7 separate regions of the Homo sapiens genome follow, and regions 1, 2, 4, 5, 6 and 7 are each linked to region 3. The links are contacts of gene promoters, found by promoter capture Hi-C in blood cells and fetal thymus (Javierre and others, 2016). All regions are on one chromosome and are shown on one strand. The core of a region is centred on a gene start or on the middle of the fragment in contact, and the rest is flanking DNA. Distances in the headings are between cores, read along the strand shown.

Region 1 (3,626 bases), core at 16-2,515, 1.9 Mb before region 3:
CCCCCACACACACAAAGTCATAACTTTGGAAAGTGATGGATATGTTAATTAGCTTAGTTGTGGTAATCATTTCACAATTTATATCATCACCTTGTACACTTTAAATATACACAATTTTTGTGTGTCAAGTCTACTTCAATGAAGCTGGAAAAAAAGAGTAGGAAAACATTCCCCACAAAAACCTTCCTCAGTAACCAGATCCCACCCTTCCTGACGTAAGTCCAACAGAATGATAGTTCAGAATCCGAAATGAAGTTGAATCACAGAAAATGCGCAACGTTTTCTTTCTTTTATGCTGGAGTTTGTGAAATGAGAATCATACCCATTAAGTATTTCATATATCAAGAAAGAGTCTCTTAATGGTGTCCTTAGAACCTTATAGACTCTCCCAAAGACAACTGTTTTATTTTACTTAATCGGTGAACACAACCTCTCTGAAATGTAGCATCTTCAAAGACAATCAGTTTTAGTAACATTTCTTCCTTTAATTGATTCTCTTTCTTGTATATTTAACATAAAGAAGAAACATGTGTTCCTGGAAAGATCTATTTTACAAGGCGTTAGATTGGGTCCACAGCCAGATGGAACAAGGCAAGACGTAGAATGTGCAGCAGCCAGTGTGACAGGGCTTGCAGCTCAGACAGTCATTGAGCGCCTTCCTCAAGGTCTCATTAAAGCCTCCATGAATCCCCAGTGCCAAGCATTGCACAAGTGAGAGAAATAACATACTGTTTTTCCATCACCTCTTTCGGTTACAACTGAATTCACTTAGCAAATAATGGAAAAGTAAATGGAATGGGTTTTACCTTCTTTAATAGCTGACATTGCTATGTTGATCTTTTCCCATACAATAGTAGCAGCCCTAGCACCAACAATGGATTTTATTCTGGTCAGTGACATTTTCTTGAAGGAATCCCAAGTTTAATAAAATGGAGAAATATTTCTTACAATTGACATAAAGCTTTCTGACTGTAAGTCATAAAATCTGGAAGAAAACACCTTAGTCCAGTGTTGCTGTTTTTCCCCAAGGTAGTTATTAACAAACACACAAGGCTAGCAATAAAATTCAATGATGTTTCTAACAACAGGAGAAAAATTATTGCTGAATCTGCTGTAGTAAGTAATTAATATAAGGCAAATAATGACACTGTGGGATTAGGAGCAGGAAAAATTCATTAAAATGCTCTTTGTGTACTTAAAGCAGTTTGCATATCCAAGTGAATTACTTGAATGCTGGAGGACATTTACCCTCAGCATCTGTTTTATTATCCACTAGGAACCTGTGCACATACCTTGGTGAACCTCATCCTTGCTCCACCAAGATAAACATGCCAGAAAGGGATTGGGTTTGGCCAAGAATGAAGCATTCACTACACCATCAAGCATTTTCTTCTTTGTCATAAGGGAGCACTCAACTGGTTTTCCAAAGGCACACGTGCAAAATAGAATTAGCTCTGCCTAGTTGTGATGGCTCTTCCTCCTTCCTGTGGGGACAGCCCTGCCTCAGTGCACTTTCATAAGGGCAGCGTCTTTCCCCCATGGGACCTGTGTGATTTATAACTCTGAAGAAAAGCTTACACTCCATCTAATTGGGTGGTCAACATTTGGACTCAATTTTGAAATTCATTTTCTGTTACTCTTTGTAAACCTAACAAAATAAACAAGTGTAGTTAATTTAGATGTCTCTGGGCAATTTTCATCCATATGTACCTTGCGGCTTAAATTAAAAAGCAATTAAACCAGAAGACTCTATTTTGCTGTCAGAAAATTGCTCTCTTAAAGGGGGGGTGTGTGTGTGTGTGTTCACGCATGCGTGTGCATGTGTGTTTCCAATAAATAAACATAGTGAGTCATTGGATTGTAAGCTCGTTGAGGCATAATCTTGTTTAAACAAAATGTTTAATTCAGTTATTTTTATTTATCCTTTTAATCAACAAATATTTACTATGTGCCTGGCACTATCAATCAGTGGATAAATGAATGAAGAAATAAATGAACAAATGAATTAATAAACCATCCACTTCATGGCCTTGTCATATCTCTCCAACATTACATCCTCTTGTTTTTCATGCCCTGAAAAAAATACAGCAATTTACAAAAACTCCTTGCAGCCCACAGATCTTATACTTTGGAGTGAACAAGCAGTACCGTTGCTAGTATTATGGAAAAAACCATGTTTTTAATATAAAGTATATGTACCTCCATGGTAATGAATAATTCACCTGAGTACCTACTGGATTTACATACACTATGGGTATTTTGATAATATCAGTTAACATGAAGCCTTTACTTTGGCTGGAAAAATATTCTAAGTTTTAATATACAGTAGTCCCTCCTTATCCACAGGTGATACATTCCAGACCCACAGTGGACACCTGAAACTGTGAATGCTAGCCAACCCTATATATACTATGCTTTTTCCTATACATACATACCTATGATAAAGTTTAAGTTATAAATTAGGCACAGTAGGAGATTAACAACAAAAACTAAAAATAGAACAATTATAATAATATACTGTAATAAAAGTTATGTGAATGGGGTCTCTCTCTCAAAATATTTTGTTGAACTGTACCAGTGGGTAACTGAAATCTTGGAGAGCAAAACTACAGATAAGGGGGACTACTGTGTCTTCTTATTTAATCCTCACAACAACCCTATGATGTAGGTATCACCCCTACTTCATATCTGAGGAAACTGAGATACAGAGAGGTTGAGTAACTCCTGTAAGTCTGCACAGCTATTCAGTAAGAGTGCCGAGCTCTTGGTATCCACAGTCTGACTCTAGTACCTCTGCTCTTAAACTCGACACACTCGCTCCCGTCTCCACAGTGCCACAGCCCAGTCCATTTACAGTAAAGAGGCTGGCAGGCCACAAAGGACTCTCTATTTGCTTAGAGCAAATTTTCGTCTTCACCCACTTAAACAAGGAAACAGAGGATTGTTTGAGCTACACTGACCAGCAAACAAGAGCTTCAGGAGCCATCATTCATGTAAGAATTCTATTTATGCTACATTGTGTGTGCACGTGCATGCATACATAAACCAATGCAAAAAAGAATAGTTACCAAAATATGAATGTTTGTTATCTCAGACTGATGAGATTTCTGATGAATTGACTATTTCCCCTTGCATTTTCCTATGTTGTTTGAATGTTTACAAGAGCAATAAACAATTGATACAATCAGAATAAATATATTAAATCATTTTTATTGTGAAATAGTGATGGCTCTGGAGTCAGCTTGGGTTTAAAACACTTTGATCTGAGCTTGGGCATGTTTCTTATCCTCCCTACTTTGGGCTTCCTTATCTGCAAATTGAGGTTAATAAAAATACTGCTATCACTAGACCTGGAGAAGATGACAATGAAAGACACACCATGCCTTCATAGAGTGTGGCAGGTCCAGAGCCACATACATGTGGCTTCTGGAGATGAAAATGAAATTTCCACCTTGAAGACCTGCCATCGGCTCTCATTTCTAACAAGAAAGGCCAGGCCACCATGTGGCCACAGCTCAAACAGTGAGATGTGCTCCAACTCCATTTGGGTTGTCAAATCCTCTTTTCTGTTTTATATCAGAAGTTCAGAACAGCCCCAGGCAGCAGCACTACAAATGGCTTCACCC
Region 2 (3,568 bases), core at 913-3,412, 1.2 Mb before region 3:
GGTCTGTTCCCAGTTCCAGGAGCTGAGAGCTCAGTTTCCAGGCCCTCTTCAGTAATTTGCCTATTCTAATTTATAGAACCTAACAATTCCCATGTCTAAAACTGTGAAACCCATCTAGATAATGAAAATGGTGCCCTCTGCTGGAAAGAATCAAGAGGAACTAGAGTGACAAACCCTCTCCTTTCTCGTGTTGGTTTCATTACCTGGAATATGGAAAAGAAACATTTATATTTGTTTTAGGAGTTAACCTAGTATCCTTGCCTACACCCTTCTTAAGATAGATGCTCCATCAATCTCTTCTATCCTGGAGAATTTAGGCTGTTTTGCCAAACATTTCTTTTCTGAAGAGAAAGCCTCACCCCAAATATTGACTCCCACATAGTTTTTGACTGAGTAAATAGGGTTATTAGTTTACCACTTCTCTGCAAAGCAGTTGGAGTACCTGTGTACATGAAGGAGAATGTAAGAGAATGGTGGATTGTTCAAAAAGCATCTCAAGCCTACTCATTGCCCCTGCCAGGTTCCCAAACAGGAAGCCACTAGGGTGGTAAATATAACCCCAGTGGGTGAGTTACTCCAAGGGCACCTTTTGTAAAACTCTGGAGGCTATATTGGATATATTCATAGTGAAACAAAAGGGTTGAAGTTGAACATTTACAATATTAAAATCACTGACATAACAAAGTGAAGAATTTGAGTGTTGTCTTTAATAGGAACTTTTTCTGCTGCTCTATAAAATAAAGACCTCAACACTGTGCCACAAAGCCATCATTGTCAAGGGTGTTCTATCAACACTGCTATGAGGATCCAACCCACTTTTAATTATTTATCAGGGAAACAAAAGAGTCACAAGGTGACTGACAGTGGAATCAAATGCTTTCCAATAGGACTAGACTCATAAAAGAGCTTACAAAGGTTTAAGTTCCTCTGAAGCCAGGGCCCCTTTGGTGTATATGTGACCTAAGAGTGACCATTATATAATAGAATGAATGGGAAACTGCCTGTTCACCATGAATCCTAAACAAGTCTAAGTAGTTCTTCTTGTTGAATCATCAACGACAAATCCTTAGGTCGGCAGAGGCCTGAAGTCATTTGTCATCCAAATATAAGGGGAGAGAGGCACATAAAGCCATGTGCAATGTTTAACCTCAGGTTCCAAGTATTTAATTTTGAGTCCTCTTTTCCTCATGGGCTGTCTTCAACTTTCCAAAACAACTTTAATGAAATGCAGCTGGATTCTGTACCTTTTCCAATAATGCAGGAGACAGGAAAAATGATTTTGCTTACTTGCCTACACTTTTTATAAGCTAAAGTGTGAATGAACTATCAAAACCTACTGAAACTTATTAAGCTGAATTCTGTCACCAGTAACACATTTTATAGCTTTTAAAAGAAAAGCTATGGGGAATTTTGAGTAGGACATGGGTATTTAAAAACACAGTTCGCTCATTTAATTGGGAGCTGTACAGCTAAGCTTCAGACAATTTAAGTTTTAAAATTTCTCTTGGGGTTTTAAGGGTATTGATCATAAAATACTTATTTAATACTGTTTGACTGTGTGACTGCTCCTTCGCAGTAAGGGTCATCCTTGCCCTGCTCCCTCCCAGGTATGAAGAGTGGGACATGGTATTCAGCATGTGTTAGTGAAAACACAGAAACAGCCAGCATTCTTCTGAGTACAGTTTTAGGACCTTTCTGCTGCAGTGAAGTCATTTTGGTTATTTCCAGTAAATATTTATTTCATTTGGCACCATGCTTAGCTCCTTATTTATTAATTAGCATTATGTTTCATTCTAATGCTAAAATAGAAGGCTTTCAAGTTATTGAGGATCCCAAATGCATTTATAATAAAATGCTAATATCATCTTTGTATCTTTGGGGATTTTGGTGTTGATAAATTTGAGGGTGTTTTGGAGAGGTTTCTAGCACCATATAGCAGCATATTATAAAACCATGGCAGTTTTATTCTATTAAGAAATCACACCCCCAGACGTATCTGAAAAACTTCCTTTGGAAGATTGCAAAAGGCCAGATGCAAATTTTTTGCTTAAAAAATTAGTCCAGGAATATAAATATCAAATGTTTATGATTTTAGAAGGTCCAAATATCTGTCTGGAATTCTGGGTTGAAGTTAGCAGGTTAAGGTCAAGTTTTTTTGAAAGTCTCTCCAAATATGCAACAGATGACACTGCAATTCCAGCTGTGTTCACCTATTCTTAGAACAAAGCCCTACATGTACTAGGAAATTTCCAATCAGATAAGAAAAACACCAAAGAGAATGGGTAGATTGGTGAGGTGCGGGTATATGGACATTTTTTTTTAAGTGCTGAACAAATCGCCAGGAAATAATTTCTTCGAAGACACTGAGAGGACAGAATTAGCATACAATTCCTTTACATATTCTGTTTTTGCACCTGTCCCCCTGTGACGTCGCAGTCAAGCAGATCTCATGTTAACCGGCTCCCTGGCTTTGGTAGGTGCCTGGGGCTGGAGGCTGGCTTCCACCTCTTCCCTCCAGAGCTGAGCCTCTTTGCCCCGTGAGAATTACCTCCCCACCTTTCTTCCCTCTGCCCGTTCCCTGAGCAATTTAGAGGGGAAAAAAGGGTAAAGTTTTTTTTTTAATAGTCATCGAGTATATGTAAGATTTTAAAACTTGTATCCTCCACTTTGGGTATTAAGGGAAAGCTCAATGATAAGAATCTAATTCTGCAACGTTTGTGGCTAATAATGACGGTGCAAGTTCAAAATTACTCTGAGCTTGTGATAGAAGTCAATAAGTATTCTCTCAGCAACTGTTGTGGGCTGGGTGTTACAGGGGATGAAGAGAGAAGAAAGACACTACCTTCATCTCAAGCTTAGGATCTTCATGAAATTTTTTTTTTTTTTTTTTTTTTTTTGAGACGGAGTCTCACTCTGTTACCCAGGCTGGAGTGCAGTGGTGCGATCTTGGCTCACTGCAAGCTCCGCCTCCCGGGTTCACGCCATTCTCCTGCCTCAGCCTCCCGAGTAGCTGGGACTACAGGCGCCCACCACCACGCTCGGCTAAAATTTTTGTATTTTTAGTGGAGATGAGGTTTCACCATGTTAGACAGGATGGTCTCGATCTCCTGACCTCGTGATCCACCCGCCTCGGCCTCACAAAGTGCTGGGATTACAGGTGTGAGCCACTGCGCTCGGCATGGGATTCTTAAAGTACCTAATTTAAGTTTTTAAATTTCTAGACTACAAGAAAGAATTCAGTAGTTGTGGTAAATGAGGTTAAGATTCTAAGCCATATGATACTGACAATATTTGAACATTTTTATCTATAAAATGGGAGTTTCATGTGGCTCAGCCCTGGTGAGAATTTAGAGCTTGATACATAATGTTCTATAATTTTTAGTTGCAAAATAACAGTAGTTTGAAAGGATTTTTTTTATTATTTTTTTGAGACGGAGTCTCGCTCCGTCGCCCAGGCTGGAGTGCAGTGGTGCAATCTTGGCTCACTGCAGCTCCGCCTCCCAGGTTCACGCCATTCTCCTGCCTTAGCCTCCTGAACAGCTGGGACTACAGGTGCCGGCCACTGCGC
Region 3 (3,913 bases), core at 947-3,446:
GTTTATTTTGCTTTTGCAGAGGAGGCAGATGTTGACCTCTCTTCTTTGCACAGTCTCTCCGCAAAATTTTCCCCCAACCATTTGCTTTCTTGCGCCACCCCCCACCGGGGCACTATCCCTGGAGTCAGCTCCTCAGGCCTTTAAACCTTCCAGAATGTCACACATGGAAACCTTTAGCAAATGTTTGTTAATGATCATAACAAAGGCATCATTCAAATTAGGCAGGTAATTACTACCAGAAGGACAACTGGGTGCTCGCTTGCTCATCCATTGCTTTCTGCTTTAAACTCCCGAGGAGTCGCTGCCTGGAGACACTCCCGCCCGGACTGCTTCTCGGGCCCCATTAAACGGCTCTGAAATGAACTGTGAAGTTACCATTTGTGGGCGGAGAGCGCTGGGGCCCTGCGGACGGAAGACCCTGGCTTGACCGGACTAACAGTGTCGCCGAAGCAAAGCAGCCCCTCTGGGTAGGCTGTCTGTCTCGCCTCCTACCCTCTGGGGCAACTAGCCTAAAAACCCGGTTCTCAACTTAACAGCATGTGGCCCAGCACCCGCTTTTGCCTTTTATTCCGCACTCTGATTTTTGGGGGGATCGTTTGTTCCCGCTCATTTTCTACAAACATTACGGTATCCTGTTAGCATTCCGAACAAGGGGCTGTTCATATATTTGCCTTCAATGATTTCCTGAAGGGACATGTGGAAGTAATAGCGAGCGGTGCAGTCACCCAAGCTGAAGATGCACGAGAGCGGGTCGCGTAGAAGAACTGCGGCAATGGGACCCCCAGCGCAGCCCCAGGCGCCCTGTTTTCGAGGCTGACATCCCAAGATCCTGTCCTGGTTAGGCACAGCACCGCGCCCGTTGGAGTACTTCTCTGTGACTCTCCCCTGTCCACTGCACTGTGTCCACCCTCCTGGTGAAGGAGGAGACGGCTGTTGGACATGCCAGTCCCAACCTGGCCACTTTGGCCATTTTCAGAGTGCGTGTGTTGGGGTGGGGTTGAGGGAGAAGGATGAAGGATGACCCCCAACCCCAACAGGAGAATTCAAAAATCAGAGAGCGATGAAGGTGAACGCGCTCCCCTCCCCCGCTGTCGCTGGGAAGCCCCACTCTGCCCAGGTCTGGTTCCTGGAGCATCAGCGCCCCCTTTCCCTCGCCGGCAGGATCGTTTCCTCCCGACACTGGCCTCTCGCCTTGGGCGCAGGGTTTGGGGCTCAGCTGTCAATTCCAAGGAATTCGTAGGGTTCGACCCACGCGGCGGGAGGGAACGGAGGGAGAATCAAAAGGCATCCTCCCCCACGACGCGGAGGCGGTGGTACGATTCCTCAAACGCCCAAGCTTGAGCTTTTTTTGTATGCGAGATAGAAGCCAGGGCAACCTCGCCCAGATAACCCCGAAAACAAAGGCACGACCAGATAAGTGACTTCAAGGGAGTAAAGGTCGTTCTATCGGAGAACGTTCCAAACCTACACAGACCCTCTTTTCTTTGTACCGTATTTCAGACCACCCAGTCTTGTACACACACACACACCACACAAAACAAAAACCCATCATTGTCATATTGGACTCAACAGTTTGCCCAATCCTATTAAATAACTAGCAACTATATAGCCCTTCCCCTAAAAGACCCCTAGTTCAAAACGGCGCAACCGCTTGGAGATTTCTCCCGAGGGCCCTATTTCTCGTTGGGCCGAGTTTGTAGAAGGGACATTTCTTGATTCTAGATTTATATTCTCTCTGGGTATTAAATGCAATTTTGTATGTTCCTTTTCTTCTTTTCAAAGAGAATACAAAACTATAGCAGTCTAAGAAAATAACCCCAAAATGGGGAGGCAAACTCATTCTGGAAATGATGGGCTGTTTGTAGTTTCACAAAACCTCTTTCCCGGCAGAGCACCAACACCTCCCCCTTCCACCACCCCCCATCCCATCTGGTCTGCTTCTCCCCGCCCCCCAGTTGTTGTCGAAGTCTGGGGGTTGGGACTGGACCCCCTGATTGCGTAAGAGCAAAAAGCGAAGGCGCAATCTGGACACTGGGAGATTCGGAGCGCAGGGAGTTTGAGAGAAACTTTTATTTTGAAGAGACCAAGGTTGAGGGGGGGCTTATTTCCTGACAGCTATTTACTTAGAGCAAATGATTAGTTTTAGAAGGATGGACTATAACATTGAATCAATTACAAAACGCGGTTTTTGAGCCCATTACTGTTGGAGCTACAGGGAGAGAAACAGAGGAGGAGACTGCAAGAGATCATTGGAGGCCGTGGGCACGCTCTTTACTCCATGTGTGGGACATTCATTGCGGAATAACATCGGAGGAGAAGGTAAGGGAAAAGAAAAAATGATTTTTTGTTTATAAGGGAAGTCCCTGATCAGACTCTGGGACTGGAGAAAGCGAAGTAACTTCAAACTTTGGGCGACAAGAAAAAAAAAAAGGAGCTGGATTCCAGTTGTGTGTCCAGAGAGTAATTTTTTTTTTTCGGAATAAACTTCACTTGGGGACGGGTGGGAGATAACCATAGAGTTAGAAAGTCTAGGTATTTTTTTTAAACACACATTTTCCAGACCTATTTTTAAAAACAATGTTTTTCTAACAACCCTATGGCCTCCCAAAGAAATTGTTTAGGCTTACATTTTTGAGGTTTCTTTTGGGAGTGGGGGTGGTGTTCGTGAATACTGGGCCGAACACCAAGGAACTGGGGGTGGAGGCAGAGGTGTTTGCCCTCTTCTTGGCAGTGGGTCCTGGAAGGCGACAGGTTTTAAATGAGTGTTTTCATTCCTCGCCTGCGGTTTGGCGGGACAGCGCTGCAGCCCATGGTGTGGAGCGCGGCTGGGGGACCAGGGGGAGGTGGGGAGAGGGGAGCGTGGAGGGGAGCGTGGAGGGGGGCGCGCGAAGGGGTTGCGGGGCGCAGGAGGCGGGCTGGGCTCGGCTGGAGACCGGACCTCGGTGTTGGCCTACAGCACAGGGAGCCGGCCGAATGCGCGTGATTACTGGACGGCGCTGCTCTGGGAGAGAGTCGGGGCCAGATTTGGCGCGGCGGTGAGGCGGCTGCGGGACAAGCAGAGGCGCGCGGGCGTGGGCAAGGGTTTGGGGCGCTCTGGAGCGGTTTGTTGGGTCAGTGAGGTGCCAGGGAGAGCGGGTGCCTGCCGGGCAGTGTGCTCGGGTTGCACGCCCTAGCGCGGGGGCGACAGCGGCGGCGCGGGCGGGCGGTCTGGAATAATGACAAACACATTTGGCCCTGAGTGAAGAAGTCGTCGTCGCCTCGCATTCCAGCAACTGGGATTTGAGGAATTTCGAACCGCACACCAAGGGGCCCTCATTGTGCTCCGTGGCCCCCGCCCCCGCCTGTCTTCCCGCGCCCCCTCCTCGGTGGAATCATTTCTGCATTGCCCGGGGGCTCTGCTTTCGCTCAGTTCTGGCCGCAGGCAGGAAGAGAGGAAAGGTCTCCAGGAAGGTGCCGAACTTCTTGTGAGGAAGTTAGGGACGACTTGGAACTGGGGAAACTTGTTTGCAGGTAAGACAGAAAGGTGGGAGGTAAACCATATTCTCCCTCCGGGCACCCGAGCCCTGGACACCCCCTACCCGGCACCCTTCTCCGCGCGGGGGTGCGTGGCACTTGCCGTCTGAGCTCGCCCAGCGCTGCTCGGTCCTCTCTAGTTGGCCTTTTTTCCATTCCTCTCCCTGCCGGCTTCAGAGCCGTCTGTGCGTACTTCTCCTTCCTCTGCTGTCTACCCCCATGGAAACCAGATTTACACACGAAATTAACTCCGCCCGGCTGCGCCCAGGGAGCGGGCGGCGTCCATTTGGCATTGAATATGTGGGATCAGCTGTTCTATTCCGGGAGGGTGTCGGCCAGGTCGGAGCGACGAGTGTGGCCCAACCCGAGTACGTTGCCAGAGGGAGCCAGGAGCCTGGGC
Region 4 (3,498 bases), core at 507-3,006, 1.2 Mb before region 3:
CATCTGAAACAGAAATCTATACTTGGTCATATAATACCACATTCAGTTTTTCAAACTCTCAAATCACACTTATACAAATAAAAATATCTTTATTTCCAAGTTATCATGAATGAAGCACAGATAGGGATATCCTTCTTACAATGAAATTAGAAAATCAACATTAAAATAAACATTCTTGTTAATCTATGAGAACATCTTTTAGTTTAATTGATGCCAAACAACATAGATACTTCCAAACCAAAAAACACATCAAAGAAAACATATATTCTCCATGCTGCTGATGGAGAATGCCTAGTAAGTACAATTTAGAGATCACACAGTAGGCAGATAGTTATTTCTCAATCTCTATCAGTTTATCAAAGCACAATTTTTCACTGCCAAGTAGGACTCTTATGCTAATTTTTCACTCTTATGCCATCTCAGCATGTTCTGTTGTGATCTACCGACTATCCAAGAGCTGAATATTTCCATTATAAATGCTAAAAATTTGAGTTAAAAAAAGAGATTTTGAAAAAGCTATTCAATTGATGCGGGAAAAACTACCACATTGTGAGCTCCTGGAGGACGAGGCCCCTGTGGCCTGCTGCTGTGCACCACAGCACACACACAACATTTATTTAACTGGAGTCACCTCATGGATCTTATGGACTGGATTTTTAAATAATAGTTTGTCAAAATGTAACCTCTGTTAAATACATGTATAAAACTAACATACTTGATTTCCACAGGGATAATTTCATATGTTAAAAGTTTCAAGAAATCTTTTTACTTAGACTGAATTATGTTCTTATGTACTTTCATGAACATGGATATGTAAATGACTACGGTTTTTCATTTTTTTTTTCTTTCTCCTTCTCAGGAAAAATTTCATACAATTTTCCAGAAAAGTAAGCTATCACCACCAGAAAAACAACAACAACAACAAAATAAGACACAGAAAAAACTAAAATTCTTTTTGTTAAACTGTGATTACAGAGTTTCTTCCACACTGTTTAAATTGCCCCTCAGTTCCACTCAGAGATTCTAGGAAACTCGCTGCTTTCAGGAGTAGAATATTCCCATTGTAAAAGACATTTCAAGAATATCCAGTCCAAGTCCTGCATTTAGAAAGGAAAACTTGCCCAGAGCCCACTGCTAATTAGAGGCATAACTTAATTAAGTTCCACCAGGGCAGGAGTTATCACTGTGCTTCCGACGCCTAGCACAATGCCTGGTACATGGTTGACATTCTATAGGTATTTGTTGGCTAAACAGATGACTTAACATGAGATAAGAATGCTGCCTCCAATTTCCTAGTGCAGTCCTGCTACAGCAACATAGCCACAAGGCCAGTTTTTAAATGATGCACTAAATGGGAAACAAGGATATCAGAGCCATGTTTGAAGATTAGCATTTTCAGGGCTGAATTAATCTTGCCAGCTAGGGACATGTGGATAAAATTACAGTGAGAACCCTGCAAATCCATACTGGCTTATCATCATGTAGCGTTTTAGGCAATCACTCTAGGAGCCAGATCCTTTTGGGTGTCTGAAATACTCCATAACTTCTAGACAACTAGAGTAGTAGTACTGCCATTACTTGAAGGTCACTCTAATAGGATACAGTGCAGGGCAAGCAGAAAAAACATAAAATGCAAACTTTTAAATTCAAACCATCATTTTTTCTTAAAAGGAAAAGGCAAGAAATGGAGAATGACAAATTCCAAAGTTGACAATGGTTACTAAACTCTTTCAGTTTTTTCCCTGCTAGTGAAAGTGTATAACTTCTCTGGCCAAATGATATGTGTACAAATTACTGTTTTGAAACAGCAATGAATTGCCTGTCACCCTAGTGACCTGATAGAGTTAATATACACCAAGGTAACAATCTCCTTAAGTTCCTAATTGACCACATTATCAGTGAACAGACCTGTCTTTTGTTGAGCTAGCCTCATCCAGAACCATGGGCTTTTTTCCCTGAAGGGTTCTAAACTCCAGAGTTCTGCAAACACATCCTCTCAGCTTACCCTGTTCTTCCCATCCTTCCAGGCCTTGTTTGTCCACCCTCCTTCATGAGGTCTGCTCAGTTACCCAGCCCCACACACTTCTTTTTTTTTTTTGGCCACAGTCTGATGCACCTTCAGGAAAGAACTGGTCCAGCTCTGAAGTGTCCTGCGCAGTGATGTAGGTAAAGTGGGCTGACCTGCTCAGTGTTGGTTTTCCAACGTCCTTGGATAGGGTGATTAGAGAAATCTCTCCCAGCCCCAAGAGTCTATAACTCCACCTACTCTTTGCATTTGTTACTTTGGCAATTCTTTAAGTTCTTCACCTGGAAGTCTGGGAGTGATCTACAGAAGAGTATGAACAATTAATATACATATATTTAATAAAAAGTAGGCTGGTAGCGGTGGCTCATGCCTGTAATTCCAGCATGTTGGGAGGCCAAGGCAGGCGGATCACTTGGGACCAGGAGTTCGAGACCAGCCTGGCCAACATGGCAAAACCCTGCCTTTACAAAAAATACAAAAATTTGCCAGGTGTGGTGGCACCCACCTGTAGTCCCAGCTACTCGGGAGGCTGAGGTGGGAGGATCGCTTGAGCCCAGGAGGCTGAGGCTGCAGTGAGCTGCATTCAAACCACTGCATTCCAGCCTGGGTGACAGAGTGAGACCCCATCTCTAAATAAATACATAAAGAAAAACAATAAAGAAAGAAAGTAAAGTAAGTACATTTTTGTACTAATTAAGATTTTATTTTTTTTTTCTTTATGGGATAGACTATGGTAGCAATATTAAAGTTTTAAGAAAAATATATGTGGGCGGGCATGGTGGCTCATGCCTGTAATCCCAGCACTTTGGGAGGCCGAGGCAGCCTGATCACTTGAGGTCAGGAGTTTGAGACCAGCCTGGACAATATGGTGAAACCTTGTCTCTACTAAAAATACAAAAATTAGCTGGGCGTGGTGGCAGGCTCCTGTAGTCCCAGCTACTTAGGAGGCTGAGGCATGAGAATCACTTGAACCTGGGAGGCGGAGGTTGCAGTGAGCAGAGATTGCGCCACTGTACTCCAGCCTGGGTGACAGAGCAAGACCCTGTCTCAAAAAATAAATAAATAAATAAATAAAAGAGAAAAAGAAAAATATGAGAGAAATGCTTAAAGTTTTATTCTTTAAATTCTTTTTGTTGTCAAATTAGACAAAATACTGCCAATATTTTATTTTATTGATAACAAATATAAACATACCTTGGAAAAACTAGGTAAAATTATTTGTAGGCTAATTCTTTGTGAATCATACTATAGTACTCCTTCTCTCTCCCATGGATATATGTTCTCTGTTCAACACAATCAAGGAGGAACTATGTCTTATTTTTTCGGTGATTTCCTCATATTATGGCTCAATGCTACTTATTCAATAGAGTGCTTCTTATTCAATAGAGTGCTTCTTATTCAATAGAGATGGAATGCTTCTTATTCAATAGAGATGGAAGAAAAGGGAGAGAGGGAAGGATAGAGGGAGAGAG
Region 5 (3,412 bases), core at 791-3,290, 1.4 Mb before region 3:
GCTCATTATGTATCGTCACTTCTCCTGCCTTGCCTCCTTCCTCTTTTTAACTCTATGAATGTCCCAGAAGGAGAGGTAGGTGGAGTGGAGATGGGCTATATGCTAGGTATTTGGAATTTGAATAGCTCTCTTTTCTTTTTTACATCTTTCTCTTGCTTCTCTCTTTTCTGTGTTCTTTAAAGCATAGCCAGATCATTTAGATCTAAAATAAGAACACCAAATCAAGCCTTTGCGTTGCAGACAGAAAAATCACGGGTTTTGTATGGGCTTATGGTAATGAAAATCAAGCCCAAGAAACTAAATGATTCAAAGCAAAATTCCCCTTGACAGCTTTTGTCATGTCTCTGTGTGTGTGTGTGTGTGTGTGTGTGTGTGTGTATGTTAAACTAGTACTTTAGCCTACATCATTATTTTACCATGTAAGCATGATAGAATAGCAGGCTTTTTGGAGGGGAAAGATTTTAAAAGTACATGGTTACCTGTAATTACAGTCTTGCAAAGTTTGATTTTATAGAAGTGACATTCAAGTCTGATTTAAACCATGCAGAAAGACATGGTGCATATTGGAAATGCTTTTTCTTTCTGACTCAAATGGCTGTTTCGTTCTAGTGATCTCCCTAGAAGTCAGCCTTTTATTATGTTTATTGTAAGGTTGTGTGTCTTTCTAATTACGTGGCCCATCCTAGAAAACTTGCTACCTTGAGATTACCTTTCTATTTCTCCTTGCATTCCTGCAAACACCTAAACCTCTGTAGACAAGAGGTTCATCTCAGAGTCTGAACTGGCTGAGGATCATAAAATTCTGTCAAATACCTGGTCAATTAAGTTCTGGCTGGAAGAGGGGGTCAAATTAGATGACTGACATGTGCGGATAAGGGCACTGGTTTATTTCACATTTTAGCCTTTAATGTGGGTGGGTACACAAAGCCACAGAGTTTGTTGCCATACCCCAACATAAAAGCCTCTGGGACAAGGTTGAAAGGGTAGCGGGGAGAGGGCCTTGGATAGCGGATGGGGTGGTTAACCCGCGACTCTGGTGACATTTTGCCATCAGCCGCTGGTGACATCTTGCCATCAGCTGCAGCTACAGAATGTTGCTCGCAGGAGGAATTTGGCCTGCCGTTGAAGATGTGTTTCTCAGATGAGACTGTAAGGGGCCGGAGCTTGGGATTTTAGGAGTGCAGGGCCCACCTCTTCCTTGGTATCAAGCCACTTAACTAAACTCTTGCGGTGTCTTATGACCAGGGACGAAGTGCGGGGCCCCTTCAGACGTCGCAGCTGGAGTAACTGTTTTCTTTCCATTTCACAGCTCTTGAAGGAGGTGTGACTGAGTGAGGCGCTGGAAAGCTTGTTCTATAATTACTTCTTGATCCGCTTCTAGGCGTGCTGTGCATGCGTCCGACCATGTGTGTTTGCGTTAGCTTGCGCCGTCGACAAGAGCCAGAGAACGTGGGTCTAGGATAAAACGTGGATGATATTTTTGCTTCAAATGTCACATTTTACGGGGGTCTAAAGGTCTTAGGCTGGAGTCTTTGCGGATGATTGCCAACTGTAGCTGAATCTATGAGCTGGGATGTACCCAAGCCAGTGCAATCGCTCCAAATCAGGGCGGGCGGCACTAAGCCGGGGAGCAAACACCGCTCCCGGCCCGCCCAGAGCAGACGCCCTAGGTTGGGGCTGCAGCGAGTGCGCGCGTGGGCTGTGGAGCCGGCGGAGGCAGCGGTCCGGAATGGCTCTGTGGAGGCTGCGCTCTCTTCCTGGCCCCGCAGCCACAGCAGCTGCCCCATGCTCGCGCGGCAGGACCTACCAGGCGCCCACCCTGGGCTGCGCCGCCTCGGACCACCCGCTGCTCCCCTCCGCCCGCTGCCTCTTCTCCCCGCGCCTCACGGGGCTCCGCACTGACTCCAGGCGCCTCCGGGGGCGTCGCGCGCGCGGAGCGGCGCCGGGGGCGGGGCCTCGTGTAGGGCGCCCCGGGATTGGCTGTGGGGAGAGGGGGCGGGGCCGGCCGCGGAGAAAACAGCCGGCGCGCCGCGCGAGTGCAGTCTGGGTCTGGAGCCTGAGCCCTGCGGAACCTCGGCGCTCGGCCCCACCCCGCCCGTACCTGCACTTATTTATTGTTGTTATTTCTTACCGCGGAGCCCCGCAGTCGGGTCCTCCCGCCCGCTCCCGCGCAGCGCTAGCATTCTCCAGTCCCTCAGTCCCTTCCCGCGCGGTGCGCCGCAGCCGAGGCGATGCGCCTCATTCAGAACATGTGCACCATCGCCGAGTACCCCGCGCCGGGCAACGCCGCGGCCTCCGACTGCTGTGTGGGCGCCGCCGGCCGCCGCCTGGTCAAGATCGCCGTGGTGGGCGCCAGCGGCGTGGGCAAGACCGGTGAGTCGTCGCGCTTAGCCCTGGGTCTGGTCTTGGACGACCCCTGACGGGAGTTGAGGCTGAACAAGGCGTGGGGAGCGGTGGGAGCTGCAGCCCGACCGCTCTCCGTCCCCGCGCAGGGAGCCGCTGCCCCTTGGGAGTGGGCTTAGCCGTTGTCTACGCCACCCGCCTGCTTCCACAGACGGGGGAAACAAGGATCAAGAATGGCCAGGCAGCTTTCTGGGGACCACCGGCACCGCCGCCATCAGAACTTTGGGGTGTTTGAGCCTCTGGCAATGCCTGGCACAGAAAGGGGAGTTAGTGAAGCTAGCCCCCCTGGGAGGTCTTGAAGGTTAGGAAGACATGGGTCTACTGGAAGGCTTAGGTGTGGCTCAGCCGGGCTCAGAGGAGGGGGTGGGCCCAGTGAGCCTTCCAGCTGCACAGAGCCATAATTCACGATGCCTTCTAGCCCCCTCCTTTTTGTCTGGAAAGAAGGGTCAAGGAGCTACAGGGTAGGAATTTCACTTGGTGGCCATCTATGGCTTTCTTTGGGAGAACTGTTTTCCAGGCAGGGGGTGGGGTGGAGAACAATCTAACTTCCAAGGTTAACACTTTGACGTTCTTTTTTCTGACGTGCAGCACTGGTGGTCCGGTTCCTCACCAAACGATTCATCGGTGACTATGAAAGAAATGCAGGTGAGACAATGCATTTGAGAAAAATTCTGTCCCATTGCAGGAGGACTGCGGTTCCCATTTTCCAGCGCTTCCCAGGGAGGTTCTTTCAGTGACAGTCCGAGCCTGAGGATCCCGCCACTTAAAACTTTCCCCAGTCCCCAGCCCTCCATGGCGCCCCCCTCCCATAACTACCATCTGGCCTCATTCCATTCCAAGCCCATTCATCATTTTATCAAGTGCCTGAAAGTATTCCCCTTGGTATGTTTTAACTATAGTGACCCCAGTTGGAAGCACCCTTTGTAGTCAAGAACCTCTCCCTTCAAAACACTCCTGCAAAAGTCGTAAAAAAAAAAAAAAGGAGTCCCTAGCTCCTTCCCCCACCCCT
Region 6 (3,694 bases), core at 505-3,004, 1.2 Mb before region 3:
ATAAGCCCTACTGAGTGTTATGCACTCCACTCCACACTCCAGGAGAAAAGAGGAAGGAGGGGGACCCAGCACTGTGTGTGTTCCTGGCCAAACCTCTCCCTCCCCGACTCCTGACGCTCCTTCAACCCTCACTGCCTCATGACTGCAATCTGCTTTGGGAACCATCAGGACCATCAAAAGCATGTCATGCATCCCTTTGTACATCTGTCACCAGAGGGACCCAGTCATTCCTCATCACTCCTGTTCCCAAGATGGGCTCTGAAAATTCCTGCTCTCCCTCCATTTCCCCTTGCCCAGCCCCCAATCACTGTGCCTTCTGGACTCATGTCCATCACCAGCAAAAGCCTCTATGTTCTCAACTTCTTTGAAACTTCCTTTCACCTTGCTCCACCTAAAATTGGCTCTCCCCTCTACCATAGCTCTCTGAAGCAGTGGTTGTTTTCTCTCCTACAAACTTCACACCATTGGGCCTGGAGGTGAAGTAGATATTCGCCTTTCATCAAAAATAGGGGCAATATTGCCAATAGCAGCTATCTTCAAGAATACCCAGAGATTTTACTTGTTTGGCTTTAGAAGCAAACTGCTTTAAGGGATAAACTCCAGTCCAAGAATAAACATGCCTCTCCTGTCCTTGCTGAGTTACCTAAGTTATTAATAGCTTACTTAGTTAACTGAAGCAGGTTGTTTTCTTCAAATTCACAGGTTTTTTATTGAGTATAACCTGTTCTGTTTTAGGTTTTGAGGCAAGCTTAAAATATAGACTGTCCTCCCTAAACCTAATCTAGCTGGGGAAACAGAAGTTCATGTGGGAAATGACTAAAGGCATGCAAGTGATTTCCAAAGACCACATGTAAAACTCATTTTCATGCAGAGATCCCAGACTCAAGGCCTCTGGAAGTCAGGAAGGAGCATGGATTCAGGAACAGGCTGGGTAGAGGCCCTCACAAGTGAAGGGCATGGACCCCACCTGAACAGGGCAGCTCCTGCTTGCTCTGGCCAACTGTTGCTGTGGCCTATGGATCCCAACAGCCAGATCTTCCATTTTTTCAAGAGACACTAGAAATGCAGGTTTTAAAATGAAATATGGGCTGGGCACGGTGGCTCACGCCTATAATCCTAGCACTTTGGGAGGCCGAAGTGGGAGGACTGCCTGAGGTCTGGAGTTTGAGACCAACCTGGGCAACGTAATGAGACCCTGTCTCTAAAAAAAAATTAAAAATCAGCTGGGCATGGTGGTACGTGCCTGTAGTCCCAGCCACTCAGAAGGCTGAGGGGAGGATTGCTTGAGCCCGGGAGTTTAAGGTTACAGTGAGCCATGATTGTGCCACTGCACTGCAGCCTTGGCAACAGAGTAAGACCTTGTTGAGAGGAGAGAGAGGGAGAGAGGGAGAGGGAGAGAGAGAGAGAGAGAGAGAGAGAGAGGGAGAGAGAGAGAGAGAGAAAAGAAAGAGAGAAAGAAGGAAAGGAAGGAAAGAAGGAAGGAAGGAAGGAAGGGAGGGAGGGAGGGAGGGAGGGAGGGAGGGAGGAAGGATAGACTTGTTACTGATAATTGTTGCTTTGAAAATTTAAAAGCACTGTGAGAGGTAGCTTAGTACAGAGTTAAGAGCATGGATTCTGGAGCTAGACTGTCTAGGTTCAAATCCTAGCTCAAGCACTTATTATAGGTATGTTCTGGGGCAATCTACCTCACTTCTCTATGTGTCAGCATCTGTACCTGTAAAATGGAGGTAATAATAGTATCCAACTCTAAGTGTGGCTTAACAGCACCTGGAAGTACTCTATCAAAGTTTGATAACTGCTAATTGTCTGCCTAAAGTCAGGCTGCCAATTGGCAACCTCTACTCACTAGCCATCCTTCCTACATATCCATGAAACATTATTTATAAGCATGAGGAGCATTGGTCTTAGTGCATTTAAGTCAGTACATGAGAGAGCATTTTTAGGTGCTTATGAGTGTGGCAGACTGTAAGAGCTAGGAGATCTCAAGAAGAGCTTCATGCTGAACAGAGAGGCTTCCTTAAGAAGATGAACATGAGCTGGGCTCTAATGAATGATGTTCCTGGCTGGAGAGCAAAAAGGAGAGGGTTACAGGAAGGTGGGTACATCAGTCAAAGTCTCTGCAGGAAACAGATAACTCACTCAAACTAGGTAATTTGAGGAGAGTTGAATAAAAGGACTATGTACAAACATGTGGGCAAGGTTAAAGGAAACTAACGAGTGGAGGGCTAGTAGTCCAGGGTCATGCGTAGGCCCAAGGAGCCCATGCAGGAAGCACTAGAATACAGAGAAAACAGCTCCATGGAGAGGGTGGCCTCATTCTCCTCTTAAAACCTACAGCTGATGCCTCTGCATTAGCCAATCCCATCCAGAAACCATAGGGCAAGAGAGCCTACTGGTGCAGTCCATGTAGAATGACACCCCCCCTTCCCCTCTCCCTCCCCACCCTGGCACAGAGCATCATGGAGAAGCATGGAGAAGGCAGAATAATGAGCACAATGGGAAAGATGAAGCAAAAGGAGAAGAAACTAAAATGTGCTTGAGAGAAAGAAAACTATTCTAAGACTTAGTTTTTAAACTTATCATATTCATTTGCTCTCCCTAACGTCCAATAAATAACAACAACAACAAAACTCTTTACAATGTTGGAAGGACACTGTAGCTATGTAAACTTGCTCAGTGAGGTGGGGAAGAGAAAGGGTAAAAAGTCAGCCAGGGTCAGGGAATGGAGAGGTGCATGTATAAAACGCTCTTCAAAATAATGAAAGCTTTCTAGAGAAAAAAAAGCACAAATCTACAAAACTGTTGAACTTGAATGCTTAGCCAGGTTTTCAGAGAAAAGCTATAGAATCCAGCTGCTATTATTTTAATGGGCATGAACTGAAACTTAATAGAATGTGACTGGCCTCAAAGTTCAATAGAAGTACTTTCCAATTGTCTATAATCTCACTATCATGCAGAACGATCTGCTTGATTCAGCCAAAACTTAAATGAGTTTCTTCTATGTACTTTTCTCTTTTGATGGTGCAGAAGAGATGTGTGATCCTGACAGAACAATCTAAAGCCTGATGTGGAGATCTGGGTCTTAACAACCCCTCTAAAAGCACTGTGGGGACTCTAATGGCTTTCCTTTGGATGGTCAGCCACACCTCCCAACTACCTTTGACGAACTTGCCATCTTCCATAAATGACTGTAAATTCCTACTACTTGCAAACTATTAGTCCTCTCTCACTATCAGCCCCTTTATTATTTTCGTCCAGTATTGATTGGCTCTAGAAGTAATAAATTTCACAGTGTTGGTAGCGCTTCCTCTGTCATGGATTAACTTCCTTCCAGGGACCTTAATAATCTTAGAGTCCTATCTTCCCAGAAGCATTTTCCAAAGTCCTCATAGGCACTAAATAAACAAAGGATTACATGGTCAAATGAGTTTGGTAAATACTGGTTGAGAACCACAAAGTTAAATAAGTTTTCCTTAAGAACAACCTTTTGAGATCTTTTAATATCAAATGTAAAGGGAGAATCTACTGGAAGAACACATGGTATGCAGAGATTTTCAAACTTACTTGGCTAAAGAATACCTTTTTTTAGCAAGCACCTTGTAGGACAGATGTGCCGCTGAACATATTCTGGAATCTGGATTACAAAAGAAGAAACTGGAGTCAAAGTCTTCACAAATGATTATGGCTTTCCCTT
Region 7 (3,421 bases), core at 779-3,278, 1.1 Mb before region 3:
AAAATAAAAGATGAAAGCAAAATAATTAAGTCGGAAATAGGACACTATCAAAAGTAACCTGAACATTTTTTATTATAGATTGATATATTATAGTTGTACATATTTATTGGGTACAAAGTGATGTTATGATATATGTATAGAATGTGAAATTATTAAATCAAGTTAGCTAACATATTCATGATCTCAAATACTAATAATTTTTTTGTGGTGAGAACATTTGAAATTTACTCTCAGTAATTTTGAAATATATAGTATGTTAGTATTACTATAGTCACCACACTGTGCAACAGATCTCAAAAAACATATTCTTCCTGTCTAAACTGAAACTTTGTATCTTTTGACCAATATCTCTTCATTCTCTCCATGCCTCAGTCTCTGATAACTACCATTCTACTCTCTGCTTTTATGAGTTCAGTTATTTTAGATTCCACATATAAGTGAGATGATGTGGTATTTGTTTCTGTGCTTGGCTTATTTCACTTGACATAATGTACACCAGGTTCATCCATGTTGTCGCAAATGAATGATTCCCTTCTTTTTTAAGAATGCATAGGCCGGGCGTGGTGGCTCACGCCTGTAATCCCAGCACTTTGGGAGGCTGAGGCGGGCAGATCACCTGAGGTCAGGGGTTCAAGACCAGCCTGGCCAACATGGCGAAACCCCATCTCTACTAAAAATACAAAAATTAGCTGGGCGCCTGTAATCCCAGCTACTCGGGAGGCCGAGGCAAGAGAATCTCTTGAACCTGGGAGGCAGTTTTCAGTGAGCCGAGATGGCACCACTCTATTCCAGCCTGGGTGACAGAGCGAGACTCTGACTCAAAAAATAAAAAAATAAAAAATAAAAAAAGAATGAATAGTATTTCATTGTGTACATATATACCATGTTTTCTTTATCTGTCCATCTATTGATGAACATGCAGGCTGATTCCATAACTTGGCTACTGTGAATAACCCTGCAATGAACATGAGAGTGCAGATATCTCTTCAACATGGCAATTTCGTTTGCTTTGGATATATACCCAAAGTGGTATTGCTGGATAATATGGTAATTCAAAATATTTTAAGGAGCCTTTGTATAGTTTTCTATAACGGCTGTATGAATTTACATTCCCATCAACAGTGCGTACAGATTCCCTTTTCTCCACATCCTCGCCCACACATCTTTTTTTGTTGTTTTAATAATAGCCATTCTAATACAATCATATCTCATTGTGGTTTTAACTTGTTTTCCTAATGATTAGTGATTTGGGGCATGTTTTTCATTTTCTTTGTTGGTCATTTGTATATCTTCTTTTGAGAAATATCTGTTCAGGTCCCATTCCCATTCGTTAATTGGATTGTTTCTTACCATTGAGATGTTTCGGTTCCTTAAATATTCTGGATATTACAGATGTATCCAGTGCATGGCTTGCAAATATTTTCTCCCAGTCTCTCTAGGTCGCTTCTTCACTCTGTTAATTGTTTCCTTTACTATGTAGAAGCTTTTTTAATTTGATGTAATCCTATTTATCTATTTTGTTGCTGGAGTTTTTGGGGTCAAATACAGAAACTCATTGCCCAGACAAAGGTAGTGTGGTTTTTCTTGCATGTTTTCTTGTAGTCATTTTATGGTTTCAGGTCTAACATTTAGTGTCTAACTCATTTTCAGTTGATTTTTGTATATGGTGTGAGATATACAAAACTGTTCAGTTTCATTCTTTTGCATGAGATACACAGTTTTCCCAGCACCTTTAATTGAAGACACCATCCTTTTTCCCACTGTGTGGATTGGGCATCTTTGGCAAAAATCAATTTTCTGAAAATGCATTGGTTCATTTCTAGATTCTCTATTTCGTTTCAACCATCAATGTATCTATTTTTAGGCCAGTATCATGCTATTGTAATTACTGTAGATTTGTAAAATAGTTTGAAAGCAAGTAGTGCAGCGCCTCCAGCTTTGTTCTTTTTTACTCAAGATTGTCTTGGCTATTTGAGTTTTTATGTTGTTTCATATGAATTTTAGAATGTTTTTGCTATTTCTGTGAAAAATGCCATTGGAAATTTGATAGAAATTGCACTGAATCTGTAGATTGCCTTGGGTCATATGAACATTTTAACAATATTAATTCTTCCAATACATGAGCGTGAAATAATTTTCCATTTATTTGAGTCTTCTTCTATTATTTTCATCAATGTCTTATTCTTTTCAGTGAATAGATCTTTCACATTCTTGGATAAAATTATTCCTAGGTATTTTTTTATAGCTATTGTAAATGGGATTGTCTTCTTGATTTCCTTTTCTGTTAGTTAGCTGTTGGTGTATAGAAATGCTACTCATTTTTCTGTGTTGATTTTGTAACCTGCAACTTTACTGAATTCATGTATTAGTTCTAACAGCTTTTAGTGAAATCTTTAGGGTTTTCTATACATGAGATCATGTCATCAACAATCAGTGACAATTTCACTTTATTCCCTATTTTGATGCCTTCTGTTTCTTTCTCTTCTCTAATTGATCTGATAAGGACTTCCAGTACTATGCTAAATAGAAGTGGTGACTGTGTATATCCTTGTCTTGTTCCTGACCTTAGAAGAGAAGCTTTCAACTTTTCACCACTGAGTAAAATGTTAGCTGTGAGCTTGCCTTTCTTGTGTTGAGGTACCCTTCTACTAGACCTAATTTGTTGAGAGTTCTTATTGTAAAAGGATGTTGGCTTTGTCAAATGTTTTTTCTGCATCTAATAAGATGATCATAGGGTTTTTAACCTTCATTCTGTTAATGTGCTATTTCACATTTTTCGATTTGCATATATTGAACCATGCTTGCATCCCAGGGATAAATCCAACTTGTTCATTGTGAATTATCCTTTTGGTATATTGTTGAATTCAGTTTGCTACTACTGCATTTTGTTAAGAATGATTGTGTCTGTGTTCAACAGAGATATCAACCTATTATTCTCTTTCCTGGTAATTTCCTTCTCTGGCTTTGGTACCAAGATACGAGTTTGGAATTATTCCCTTCTCTACAATTTTTTCAAAGAGTTTGGGAAGGATTGGCATTAGTTCTTTTTTAAATGTTTGGTAGAATTCAGCAATAAAGCCATCAGGTCCTGGGCTTTTCTTTGATGGGAGAGATTTTATTATTGATTCAATTTTCTTACTTGTTATTAACTGTTCAGATTTTTTATTTCTTCATGATAGTAGGTTGTATGTGTCTAGGAATGTATCAGTTTCTTCTAGGTTATCCCATTTGTTGCTGTATAATTGTTCATGGTAATCTCTTATGATTCTTTGTATTTCTGTGGTATCACCTTCAATGTCTTCTCGTTAATTTCTGATTTTATTTTAATCTTCTCTCTCATTTTCTTAGTTTAGCTAGGGGTTTGTCAATTTCAGCTATCTTTTCAAAAAATCTGCTCTTAATGTCATTGATTTGATTATTT

What was found. The method cuts DNA at HindIII sites, captures the fragments that hold promoters and counts their contacts. A CHiCAGO score of 5 or more calls a contact.
Region 1: a fragment that was not itself captured here is called in contact with the fragment with the promoter of PDGFRA in region 3 in 2 of 17 cell types (total B cells and non-activated CD4 T cells); the score reaches 7.5 in total B cells.
Region 2: a contact is called between a fragment that was not itself captured here and the fragment with the promoter of PDGFRA in region 3, in 2 of 17 cell types (endothelial precursors and fetal thymus). The highest score is 6.9, in endothelial precursors.
Region 4: a fragment that was not itself captured here is called in contact with the fragment with the promoter of PDGFRA in region 3 in 2 of 17 cell types (endothelial precursors and erythroblasts); the score reaches 6.2 in endothelial precursors.
Region 5: the fragment with the promoter of RASL11B here is called in contact with the fragment with the promoter of PDGFRA in region 3 in 1 of 17 cell types (monocytes); the score reaches 5.2 in monocytes.
Region 6: a fragment that was not itself captured here is called in contact with the fragment with the promoter of PDGFRA in region 3 in 5 of 17 cell types (erythroblasts, fetal thymus, endothelial precursors and 2 more); the score reaches 9.2 in erythroblasts.
Region 7: a contact is called between a fragment that was not itself captured here and the fragment with the promoter of PDGFRA in region 3, in 1 of 17 cell types (naive CD8 T cells). The highest score is 5.1, in naive CD8 T cells.

The regions. Positions count from the first base shown.
Region 1 is chr4:52,366,167-52,369,792 of GRCh38, forward strand. No RefSeq gene overlaps it. Among named protein-coding and RNA genes, the nearest start is that of USP46, 290 kb to the right of the region's middle. The HindIII fragment of the contact is 612 bases long and covers 960-1,571 here.
Region 2 is chr4:52,983,620-52,987,187 of GRCh38, forward strand. All of the region lies in intron 5 of SCFD2 (sec1 family domain containing 2), which reads right to left. Among named protein-coding and RNA genes, the nearest start is that of SCFD2-AS1, 58 kb to the left of the region's middle. The HindIII fragment of the contact is 1,380 bases long and covers 1,473-2,852 here.
Region 3 is chr4:54,227,097-54,231,009 of GRCh38, forward strand. PDGFRA (platelet derived growth factor receptor alpha) reads left to right here and starts at 2,197. Exons shown (of 23, transcript NM_006206.6): 1 at 2,197-2,319. RefSeq lists an enhancer at 670-1,495. The HindIII fragment of the contact is 8,996 bases long and covers 1,335-3,913 here.
Region 4 is chr4:53,025,172-53,028,669 of GRCh38, forward strand. All of the region lies in intron 5 of SCFD2 (sec1 family domain containing 2), which reads right to left. Among named protein-coding and RNA genes, the nearest start is that of SCFD2-AS1, 100 kb to the left of the region's middle. The HindIII fragment of the contact is 3,708 bases long and covers 1-3,498 here.
Region 5 is chr4:52,860,277-52,863,688 of GRCh38, forward strand. RASL11B (RAS like family 11 member B) reads left to right here and starts at 2,041. Exons shown (of 4, transcript NM_023940.3): 1 at 2,041-2,373; 2 at 2,992-3,048. The coding sequence starts at 2,232. LOC124900700 (a long non-coding RNA gene) reads right to left here and starts at 1,929. Exons shown (of 2, transcript XR_007058115.1): 1 at 1,808-1,929; 2 at 873-1,455. RefSeq lists silencers at 1,605-2,094, 2,066-2,360. The HindIII fragment of the contact is 3,261 bases long and covers 1,346-3,412 here.
Region 6 is chr4:53,005,913-53,009,606 of GRCh38, forward strand. The region is part of intron 5 of SCFD2 (sec1 family domain containing 2); the gene reads right to left. Among named protein-coding and RNA genes, the nearest start is that of SCFD2-AS1, 80 kb to the left of the region's middle. The HindIII fragment of the contact is 2,017 bases long and covers 747-2,763 here.
Region 7 is chr4:53,168,542-53,171,962 of GRCh38, forward strand. The region is part of intron 4 of SCFD2 (sec1 family domain containing 2); the gene reads right to left. Among named protein-coding and RNA genes, the nearest start is that of SCFD2, 200 kb to the right of the region's middle. The HindIII fragment of the contact is 1,094 bases long and covers 1,482-2,575 here.